3 separate regions of the Homo sapiens genome follow, and regions 2 and 3 are each linked to region 1. Evidence: promoter capture Hi-C in 16 types of primary human blood cells and fetal thymus (Javierre and others, 2016). All regions are on one chromosome and are shown on one strand. The core of a region is centred on a gene start or on the middle of the fragment in contact, and the rest is flanking DNA. Distances in the headings are between cores, read along the strand shown.

Region 1 (3,845 bases), core at 448-2,947:
CCAGCCAGGCTGTTAGCTTTTTGCATTTTATCTTTCATTTTGCATCTTTCTCTATCTCCCTTTCTCACTAGATGGGGATTTATTATAACAGCAACCAATTTTCCTGTGCTGGAAAATGAGGAAAGCAGTGTAGCTGTGAGAAATAGTAAAAGTGTTTCAGGTCTGTCAAGAAAACAAAACCAAATCACACCATTTCCCCTTCATTTCATCTTTGTTAAATGAATACCTAAGCCAACGGTGTGCAAAGCGAAGGGCTGAATGCTTTAGTTTTCCAGTCCTCACACTAAACATTAAACTCATCTGACGGGATTCACAACATCTCTTTAATAATTAATGGTACGCGCTCAGGACAAAATCCTCTATGATGCATAAATACTTGCTAGTACCGGCACCTCCTGGTTGTTTTGGAAGTTTGGAGAGGATGGTGGATGGACACCCCCTCTTTTTGAAAACATTTTTTCTTCATCTGTCATTTGAATTACCAAAGCATTACAAGTGTATCATTAAACATTTAAACATTAGAGAAATATACAGAATGAGGGAAGTTAAAGTCCCCGGAATCTGAGCCCTCAGGGATGACCACTATTGAGTTTGTGTGGCATTTTCCTCCTTTTTTTTTTTTTTTTTGAGACGGAGTTTCACTCTTGTTGCCCAGGCTGGAGTACAGTGGTGCGAGCTCGGTTCACTGCAACCTCCGCCTCCCAAGTTCAAGCGATTCTCCTGCCTCAGCCTCCCAAGTAGCTGTGATTACAGGCATGCGCCACCACACCTGGCTAATTTTGTATTTTTAGTAGAGATGGGGTTTCTCCATGTTGGTCAGGCTGGTCTCGAACTTCCAACCTCAGGTGGTCCACCCACCTTGGCCTCCCAAAGTGCTGGGATTACAGGCATGAGCCACCGCGCCTGGCCTTTTCTCCACTTTTTTTTTCCTAAATGTATGTTATTTTATGTTATTCATTTTCCAATAGGGGATCACACAGTAACAGTGTTCTCATAATTTGATTTTTCTAGCAGAGTTCCGCACACTGTTGAGAGCCCATGTGTTACCTTGATTGAAAACTAGCCACAGAGCAAGACTCTACCTTTAAAAAAAAAAAAGAGGGGGGGCACGGTGGCTCATGCCTGCACTCCCAGCACTTTGGGAGGCCAAGGTGGGCAGATCACTTGAAGCCAGGAGTTCGAGACCAGCCTGGCCAACATGGTGAAACCCCGTCTCTACTAAAAATACAAAAATTAGCCAGGCATGGTGGCAGGTGCCTGTAGTCCCAGCTACTCGGGAGGCTGAGGCAGGAGAATTGCTTGAACCCGAGAGGTGGAGGCTGCAGTGAGCAGAGATCACACCACTGCACTCCAGCCTCGGCAACAGAGCGAGACTCTACCTCAAAAACAGAAAAGAAACAAAAACTAAATGCCTCTGAGCAGCACTACTGTCTCCATGGGTGGCCACCACAGGGATGGGCCTGGAGCTGTCCTCGAAGGGGTCTTCGCCAAGCCCTAGTGAAGAAAAAAAGGACGCTACCTGCTTTTCCACTTTGCCCTGTGCTACCCCCTTCCCCTCCTTTCTTCAGTCCCGCCTTCCCTCCTCTCCTACTGTCCTTTTCTCTCACCCTTGTTTCTGTCAGCATCCAGAGGGAAGCCAGGAACACAACACATCCAGCAGCAACCATGCAGTGCAGCTTATAACCTTCACATCGTTGTGGGCCCTAATCTCTACAACAAGGATTTAATGGGCTGTGTGTCTTGGGGTGGACCTTGAGCTTGGAGCCCAAAGGTCTCCACTCCTGACTGCCAAAGTTAACTTGCTGCCTCATCTGGTGGTGGGTAATAGAGCACATGAGGAGTCAGCGTGCTCCTGCTTAGGAAGTACCTGGCAGGGAGTCAAGCGGCATCAGGCTGGCAGGTGTCATTGCTGTCACAGGTCCCATCCGGGGTGTCCTGACACACTGCTCCCCTCCTCCAGGCCAGGAGACTCCGGGCTTCTCCCCTGCTCCTCCTCTCAAGGAGGCATGGCCAGCAGGGATCCCAGACCCCAGAAGCCAAGCGGTCTTTTCAGGTGGAATGTGGCAAAAAGCCACAGGCTGGGGAGTTGGGAGGCTGGATAGATTGGGGTGGAGACCCCAGGGAAAGACCAACAGCTGGAGGACCTCAGGTGTCCCGGCTGTGCCCCTCCAGCTGTGGGACCTCAGCATGTCCTTGGGCTTCTTGGTGGCCTGTTTCCTAAGGAGACAGCCTCTGAGGCCCGGCACACCCGCAGACGCCCGCTGAGTGAGACCTAGAGCTGAGCCAGGCCAGGGCAGAGTGGGGAGAGGACCACATAAATATACATAGATAATTTCCCTCACCATCCAGCAGAGCTCAGAAGGGTTGACAGTAAAGGGGCTGCTCCACCCCTCCAACTCTATCCCATTCCTCAGAGGCAACCACCTAACTTTTCTGGTTTTAGTTCTTCTGCAGGCCACCTCCTGTTTTAGGGAATTATTAGTCAAAGAGTTGGAGAGGATCCCTTCTCGCCAGGCTCTGACATAATAGGTTATTTTATAAGTAGTGAGTGAAACATTCAAAAAGCACAAGAACTGTCAGAAGAGTTGCTCAGCAATCTCTTTATTTTCTTCTCATGATTCTGCCCACACTCATTTCTTAGCTCTTCACAGGCGAGGTCTCTTTCATTGCATCGATTCGTGTATCCAAGCACTGGACAAATAAAGAGGCTTATCACTCGTCAAGTTCCATGAACATGACCTCATCATTCTTCTCTCCTAAACCTGGGATGATTGGCAGAAAGGGCATCCATACAACTTTTTCTTCTGCATTTGGCATTGAAAAATGGACTTCCCGTAGTCTGTAGTAGAAATATTGGAAAGTAGCAATAATCCTAGCACTTTGGGAGGCCAAGGCAGGTAGATCGCTTGAGCCCAGGACTTCAAGACCAGCCTGGGCAACACAGGGAGACCCTGTCTCTACAAAAAATAGAAAAAATTAGACAGGTGTGGTGGCGTGCACCTGTAATCCCAGCTACTCAGGAGGCTGAGGTGGGAGGATCATTTAAGCCTGGGAAGTCAAGGCTGCAGTGAACCATAATCACACCACTGCACTCCAGCCTGGGCGACAGGAGTGAGACCCTGTAAAAAAAAAAATTGATGACATAGAGCTAAATACAAAGACTAAAGAAATATCTTGGGCTTTTATACTCTTTGCTTGTGACTCTTCTAGTTTTCCTGTGGGAACGGACTAGCCCAAGTGTTAGAGCACACTGCTCTCCCGGCAACTACAGAGCTAGTTCAGCTGGTCCCAGGGGAAGAAAGCATTCCAGTACCCCAAAGGCTGGAAGCCCCCAGCCTGCTTGGCATGATTATCCAACGGTTTCCGATATAGTTTACTCCTTGACCCACTCTACTCACTGAGAACATCTGGGCACATGTGGTCATCATCCAATACAAAATGGAAGGCCGAGTCTGGGGCTCATCTACGGCAGCAACAAGAGGCCTGGTAGAATTAGGATGCCGGGTCCCACCTGCAGGAGTGCTTAAGGCCACCAGGCAGGGCGAATTTTACCCAAGCAGTTCAGAGCTCACTGTTCCCAAATATTTAATATTTAATTGATTGTACTTAAAAAGTGTATTTCCCTTGTTGTTCTTTTTACCTTCTATTCCTCTTGCCTCTCCAGCTCATATTAGCATTTTATTTATTCATTTATTTTTTTGAGACAGGGTCTCACTCTGTCTCCCTGGCTGGCGTGCAGTGGCGCAATCTCAGCTCACTACAGCCTCGACCTCCCACCAATCCTCCCACCTCAGCCTCCAGAGTAGTTGGGACTACAGATGTGCACCATACGCCAGCTAATTTTT
Region 2 (3,845 bases), core at 715-3,214, 310 kb after region 1:
TCATGGCTCACTGCAGCCTCAAACTCCTGGGCTCAAATGATCTCACCTCAGCCTCCCGAGTAGCTGGGAATACAGGCATAAACCATCAAGTCCAGCTAATTTTTTAAAAAACATTTTCGGGCCGGGCAGGTGGCTCATGCCTGTAATCCCAGCACTTTGGGAGGCCGAGGCAGGTGGATCACAAGGTGAGGATATCGAGACCATCCTGGCTAACATGGTGAAACCCCGTTTCTACTAAAAATGCAAAAAATTAGCTGGGTGTGGTGGCGGGCGCCTGTAGTCCCAGCTACTCCAGAGGCTGACGCAGGAGAATGGCATGAACCCAGGAGGCAGAGCTTGCAGTGAGCTGAGATCATGCCACTGCACTCCAGCCTGGGCAACAGAGCGAGACTCCATCTCAAAAAGCAAAACAAAAGAAAACAAAAAACATTTTCATAGAAATGAGGTCTGGCTTTGTTGCCCAGGCTAGTCTCAAACTCCTGGCTTCAAGTGATCCTCCCCCTTGAGCCGTATTATTTCATTTAATCTTCACCATCACCTTATAAGAGTGCTTGGGGGTAGGTGCTCCACACAGTAGCAACGTAGCAACCTCCACTCATAGTGACAACGAGACTCAGTGTAGTCAAGCAACTTCTCAAAGTTCACACAGCTGGAGGGTGGCTGAGCCAGGATGAAGACCTAGGACTCTAAAGCTGGTGTGCCAGTAAATGAGAAAAGTCTCTAAGCGTTCAGGATAGCTTCCTCCCAAGAAATCTTTCTCCAAAAGTTCTAAAAACAATGACAGATCCATCTTTTATAAAGCAGACAAAACTAGCAGTCCGTTCCTTTTAGAGTGGGGTGTAAAGGTTAGCTAAGCTCCAGGGCATCCCATTTTAATCCTATATATTTATAAGGCAACTGCCAGCAGAGCACCCCAAACCTAAAGAACCCTGCACAGCTGTCTCTGTGGGGCATGGCGTGTCCATGGATGTAAAGATTTTCCAATGTGTGCTTACGGGCCTGTGGCATCACCCTCAGTCACTGTCAAAGGGTAGCTAGGCCCTGCCCGCTAGGCACCATCCTGAGAATCTGCTGAGCTTTCTAACTAGTTTATCTGTTGTTTGCAGTGAAAGATGCCCTGAAAAGAAGGGGTGTGGGTGGGAAGAGTTCTGATTTGAGGTCCCCTGATCCAGGCATGCTCTTCTTCCCCAGTTGCAGGAATCAGGGGACTCTATCTGTAAATGCGGGCTCAAGCCATGCCCCCCAGCTCCCTCTTTCAACCAGGTGCCACCCTCTGCTTCTCTTCCATAGACAGCCTAGAGCTGCCAGCAGTCCCTTAGGATCTGTGGCCTCAGGCCTGGCTTAATTTTTTCCTCTCCAAAGAGCCATCTGTAGGGCCAGAGGCCGTCAAAGCCTGACTCATTACTGGATGCCAGTTCCTTTGCCTGACCTTCAGTGATTCCTACCTTACCCTGCGGTTTTATGTTTCTTGTCTCAACACTATTATTTCTTATTTCTCCACAAGTTGAATTGCTCACTCCAGCCCCTCGAAGCATGCTCTTTTTGACACAGTTAGCTTTAGGCACATGGTTGGTGCTAAAAAAAAAAAAAAAAAAAAAGAGCATTATGTCGTTTTCATTGATTAACAAACGTGATGGCTTCACTGCAAAGTAAAGTTGATACTGCCTGGACCCCTGAGTTCAAGAGTCTTTTAGACAAATGGCTCTGAGCTAAAACATGAGCATGCAAACATATGCATCTGTTTCGGTCTGATGAGATAATTTGGATACTTGGTTGTTATCCTTGAGCATTTTCCTGCCTCATTAATGCATGTGTAGCCAGCACAATAATAATCATAGCTAATAATGGCTAAAGCTGAGGGCTTTCCTGAGCCAGGCAGTGGCTTTAAAACTTTAAAGTGGCTTTTAAAACTTTAACAGCTAAAGCTGAGGACTTTCCTGAGCCAGAAAGTGGCTTTAAAACTTTAAAGTTTTCACATGGACTCTCATTGAATAATTTCTGTTTTTCAGATCAAGAAACTGAGACTTACTATCACATTTGGGATTAAGTTAAAAAAAAAAAAAGAAACTGAGGCTTAAAGCTGTCAAGCATTTCACAGCCAGCAAGCAGCTAAATCGGAACTTGAACCCAGGCAGTCTAGCCCTGGGATCCTGTGCCCTTCCTTACCCATTATCCAGTGTTGGCTACACAAAACTAATGAGTACATATTTTCAACTATAGTTTAAGTGGGTGACATATTTTTCACTATATTTTATGTAGGTGACTTTCAGTTTGGGGGTATTCTACTTACACAATCTATTGAGCTGGATATTACTGAGAACAAAAAGAAACTAATGAACTCTGAAAAACATAAAACATGAGCAACATGACATCACTGCAAAAGACAAAACAGCACATAGCCTTCTTGTGACTGTATTTTGCTGACAGTCCATGAGCTGATAGCCTGAACTCAGCAGTGCTGTTCCCTTGGGAGACACACACACACACACACACACACACACACACACACACACACGAGTTGGTGGTTTTGTACCTCCCCCCGCCCCTAAATACACACACACCAGTTGGTGGTTGTGCAGCCTGGAGCTTCCAGTCCGCGAGTGTGAGGAACGGACTAGATGGGTCCAGCAGTGCTGGGTCAAAGCCAGGAGGGGGCAGCCGGAAGCGCGCACATGCTCTGGACTCGTGCACCCGCCGAAACGGGTGCGCACCGGGCGCGCGGGGGTGAGAGGTGAGGGGTGAGGGGTGAGGGACGAGAGGGACGGGAGCGGGGTAGGGGCAGCCCTTTCCCAGGCGGTAGCGGGGGCGGTGGTGCTGTTGTCCTTTTAAGCTGTGGCTTGACAGGAGGAGCGCCTCCTGTCGGTGGAGTCTGTTACAAGGGGAGCAGCCGCCCAGGCCGCCACACAGCTCCCCGCAGAGGCCTCGGTGCCCCTTGCCATTTTCCAGCCCTACTCCGACTAGAGTTGAGGCAGCGGGGAGAGGCGGAGCCGCGAGAGCGCCGCCGAGAGGTCCCGCGGGTGGTCGCGGCCATGACAGCGGCTCCCGACCGGCTCACCTTCCGCGCCCCTCCCGCCAGAGGTGAGAGTAAAATGTCCGTGTCAGGGTTCAAGGCCAAGCTGAAGTTGTTGTCCTCTATTTTCCACAAGAACCAGGAGCCGCCGCGGCAGCTCAGGCTCCACTGCAACATCACGGTGAGGCGCCCAGCGGCGGCTTCACACGGCAGGGCGAGGGCGGAGAGGAAGAGCCCGGAGTCCCGGGACAAAGGGGAACCTGCCCAGGAGAGGCCCCGGTTCCCCGGGCCGGGTGAGCGCGCACCTTTCTCCCGCGACTGGCCTGGCCCCGATCGCCGGGACTGCGGGAGGCTTGGGTGGGAGGAGGGGGAGGGCGCGTCTCTCTGGCTCCTTGCTGCGGGGCTGGCTTGGGGGCTGCCGGCACCTCTCGCCCCAGTCACCGCGCCCCGAGGTGGGAGCCCGCGTCGCCCGCAGCCCTTTCGGGGCCCATGGTCGCCCTCAGTCAGCCAGCCTGCTCCCCGGGACCGCGACGGGGCGTGGCAGGGCGTCTCCGGCTGTTGTTTGAGCCCGGGCGGGGAAGGGGAAAGGCCTTCAAGATTTTCGGGGTTTTGGCCGGGCGCAGTGCTCGTTCCTGTAATCCCAGTACTTTGGGAGGCTGACGCAGCTGGATCGCCTGAGGTCAGGAGTTCTAGACTAGCCCGGCCAACATGGTAAAACCCTGTCTCTACTAAAAATACAAAAATTAGCCGGGCATGGTGGCAGGCACTTGTTGAGATGGAGTCTCACTCTGTCGCCCAGGCTGGAGTGCAGTGGGGTGATCTCGGCTTACTGCAG
Region 3 (3,845 bases), core at 343-2,842, 260 kb after region 1:
GGCTATGTACCTGTTGGGCCAAAGGCACAAACCCACCCTGCTGTGTGCAGGACTGTTTTACTCTTGATGAGACAGAAGTTACCATCCACCATGGGTTGGCAGCTAGGGCTCTCGGACTTCACTACACTCTCCAGGACAAAACCCCACGAGAACAAATGTGTTCCCCTGGTAGCTGATCTACCACAGGACAGTAGGCAGAGACAAAAGCAAGCACTGAAATGTCCTCGGTTTACCCCTTTCCTGAAGGCCCTGTCCAACTCTTACCAATGGAAAGGACACTGGGACACTGGCTCCAGGCTGTACTTCCTCAAGTTTCTGTGCTCCTGACACTTTCTGGAAATAGAAAGGGTCTTTACCTTCACGTGGGTGACTCAGAACTGGAGAAGCCCCTCCATCTTGACCTGAAATCAAAGCCCAAGACACCAAAGCCAGAAGAGCAGATTCTAACTGACAGCTTGGGGTGCCCTGGAACACTAACAGCTTGGGGTGAAGGCACCTTAGCCCAACAACGTGGCAGCAAAACAACAAAACAACCAGAACCACACCAATGATTTCCAGTATTTCTCTGAGGACTCGGCCCACGTTGTGGGCCATGCTGTCTTCCATTCCACATGGAGAAACATTTCCCCCCATTTTACCAAAGAGGAAACTGAGGCACAGAGGAATCATGAGAGGGGGCCAATCAAGTCACCCAATGTAAGGGAAAAAGACCCAACTTTCCAGACCTTCCACGCCTATGCCCTGTTCTTGAATGTATACGGGACTTGACTCAGACCACTAAAATGACAGTGTCCTGGAAATGAGGATGAGCAAGGGGAAGACTCTGGCAAAACCCCCCAGAATGTTTAGGAAGCACAGCTCTTTGAAAGGGAATCACTGTTGGGGCAGTGTGGCAACTCCCACTCCAGGCCAGTCCCTCACTTTCACTCTTTGCCACTTCAATAAAGTTTCTCTTTCATGTGAGTTCTCTGATGTGTGATAAAGTTAGAGCTGTTGCTGAAGCCTTTGCCACACTCGGGGCATTTGTAGGGCTTCTCCCCAGTGTGGATTCGCTGATGTATAATGAGGACTGAGTTCCAGCTAAAGCCTTTCCCACACTCAGGGCACCTGTAGGGCTTGTCTCCCAAATGGGCTCTCTGGTGCATGACCAGAATGGAGCCCCGGCTGAAGCTCTTGCCGCACATGAGGCATTTGTAGGGCTTCTCGCCCGTGTGGGTCCGCTGGTGCACTACGAGCTGGGAGCGCTGGCTGAAGCATTTCCCACACTCGCTGCATTTGTAGGGTTTCTCTCCCGTGTGGATCCTCTGGTGCTTGAGGAGGTTGGAGCTCCAGCTGAAGCTCTCCCCACATGTCAGGCACTCGTAGGGTTTCTCCCCTGTGTGCATGCCCTGGTGTGCAATCAGACTGGAGCTCTGGCTGAAGCTCTTCCCACACACCCCACACTTATAGGGCTTCTCCACCATGTGGGTTCTCCGGTGTGTGGCCAGGTTAGAGCTGCGGCTGAAGCTTTTCCCACACTCGCTGCACTGGTAGGGTTTCTCTCCTGTGTGGGTTCTCCGGTGGGTGATGAGGGCTGAACTCTGGCTGAACCTCTGCCCACAGTCGGTACATTTGTAGGGTTTCTCTCCTGTGTGGATTCTCTGGTGTCTGATTAGATTGGAGTTGTAACTAAAGCTTTCGCCGCATTCTTTACATTCGTAGGGCTTTTCTCCAGTGTGGATCCCCTGATGCGTGTTAAGGCTGGATCGGTTGCCAAAGCTCTTTCCACACTCGGGGCACGAGTAGGGTTTCTCTCCTGTGTGGGTGCGCTGATGTGCAATGAGGTTGGGACTCCTGCTGAAGCTCTTGCCACACTCGGCACACTGGAAGGGCTTTTCCCCCGTGTGGATCCTCTGGTGGGTTATGAGGTTGGCACTCCGGCTAAAGCTCTTCCCACAGTCTCTGCATTTGTAGGGCTTCTCCCCGGTGTGAGTGGTTTGGTGTCTACTAAAATTTGAACCATCACTAAAGCTTTTTCCACATTCATCACATTTGTAGTATTTCTCTCCTGTGTGGGTCCTCTCGTGTGTGATGAGGTGGGATTTCCGGCTGAAGGTCTTCCCACACTGGGGACATTCGTAGGGCTTCTCCCCTAGGTAGGTGCCCTGCAGGCCTATGAGCTGGCCAACTTCCCTGTCCTGAGAAACCACCTCCCCGTGGTCCTCACCTGGGCTGTGTCCCTGGAGCCTCTGGATGCCAGCATCTCTCTCAAAGTCACTTTCCCCATCGGAGTGCTGAGCACTTTCACCTTCAGGCATTTCCGAGAATATCTTACGTGATTCATTCTCAAACATGTCTTGATTACAGTTCTCCCCATTTTCACTCTGTATCTCAAAATCTGAAACAATGAAGAAAAACATACAATGTCTACTCAACTCCCTGTCATGATGACAAAAGAAAACGAAGGGGGAAATTTATAAAAATTAAACTTCCAGTGAACACAAAGAGGCTAGAAAATCCTCAAAGCCTTTAATAATCAGGTTTAATATACCCAAAGGAATATAAATCATTCTATTATAAAGATACATGCACACACATGTTCAATGCTGCACTATTCACAATAGCAAAGACATAGAATCAACCCAAATGCCCATCAATGATAGATTGGATGAAGAAAATGTAGTACATATACACCATGGTATACTATGCAGCCAAAAAAAAGAATGAGATCATATCTTTTGCAGGGACATGAATGGAATTGGAAGCCATTATCCTCAGCAAACTAACATAGGAACAGAAAACCAAACACTGCATCTTTTCTCTTATAAGCAGGAGCTGAATGAAGAGAACACATGAGCACATGGAGGGAAATAACACACCCTGGGGCCTGTGGGGGAGGGGGAGGGAGAGCATCAGGAAGAATAGCTAATGGATGCTGGGCTTAATACCTAGGTGGTGGGATGACCTGTGCAGTAAACCACCATGGCACGCATTTACCTTTGTAGCAAACCTGCACATCCTGCACATGTACCCCTGAACCTAAAAGCTGATGGAAAAAAAAAAAAAAAAAAACCAACCCAGGCTTATTTCATTCTGACTGGTTGTCAGGCCTCATAATCTTTGTGGCAATCACCCAGAATTTCAAAGCCTTAAAGATTTGGGTTCCATGTCCCCACTACCTGTGTCTTCATCTGAAAATGAGGTCAGGTGGGAATTTTAAAGGACATAAACAGGGTACCTACCCAATTACCCCCACACTCACCATAATGCCTGGTGCTTGATTCAATGTAATGAGTGCATGAATGAGTTTTTTTATTGGTACCATAGACATTTCCCTAAAGCTCAGTCTCCTTTCAAAAGGAGCTTATATAATAATTTCTTGTATTGACATGTATCTGGTGTTTATGACCGCATTACTTTGTATTTAGACACAGGAAAGATGACAGAGCCCGTGCAATAAGGACCCTAGGTGTGTATACCAATGACTAGAAGCAAGTTAACTGGATTGTTAAAAGAGCCCTCAAATTTGTCTGCAGTGGGAGCTTATGAATAGATTTTTTTTTTTTTTTTGAGACGGAGTCTCGCTGTGTGGCCCAGGCTGGAGTGCAATGGCGCGATCTCGGCTCACTGCAAGCTCCGCCTCCCCAGTTCACGCCATTCTCTTGCCTCAGCCTCCCGAGTAGCTGGGACTACAGGCGCCCACCACCACACCCGGCTAATTTTTTGTATTTTTAGAGAGACGGGGTTTCACCATGTTAGCCAGGATGGTCTCGATCTCCTGACCTTGTGATCCGCCCGCCTCGGCCTCCCAAAGTGCTGGGATTACAGGCGTGAGCCACCGCGCCCAGCCATGAATAGATCTTTAA

The links. Contacts are between HindIII fragments. The CHiCAGO score rates a contact against its expected background, and 5 or more counts as called.
Region 2: a contact is called between a fragment that was not itself captured here and the fragment with the promoter of SLC28A1 in region 1, in 2 of 17 cell types (M0 macrophages and M2 macrophages). The highest score is 7.2, in M0 macrophages.
Region 3: a contact is called between a fragment that was not itself captured here and the fragment with the promoter of SLC28A1 in region 1, in 3 of 17 cell types (M2 macrophages, naive CD4 T cells and total B cells). The highest score is 7.2, in M2 macrophages.

What each region holds. Positions count from the first base shown.
Region 1 is chr15:84,882,514-84,886,358 of GRCh38, reverse strand. SLC28A1 (solute carrier family 28 member 1) reads right to left here and starts at 1,697. Exons shown (of 19, transcript NM_004213.5): 1 at 1,608-1,697. RefSeq lists enhancers at 1,617-2,117, 2,118-2,618. The HindIII fragment of the contact is 20,311 bases long and covers 1-3,845 here.
Region 2 is chr15:84,569,945-84,573,789 of GRCh38, reverse strand. It overlaps LINC00933 (long intergenic non-protein coding RNA 933), which reads right to left and starts at 3,141. Exons shown (of 4, transcript NR_038274.1): 1 at 3,056-3,141; 2 at 1,446-1,575; 3 at 539-768. It also overlaps the pseudogene UBE2Q2P1. The HindIII fragment of the contact is 4,246 bases long and covers 1-3,845 here.
Region 3 is chr15:84,619,134-84,622,978 of GRCh38, reverse strand. ZSCAN2 (zinc finger and SCAN domain containing 2) reads right to left here. Exons shown (of 3, transcript NM_181877.4): 3 at 1-2,377. The coding sequence ends at 939. Among named protein-coding and RNA genes, the nearest start is that of ZSCAN2, 20 kb to the right of the region's middle. The HindIII fragment of the contact is 168 bases long and covers 1,509-1,676 here.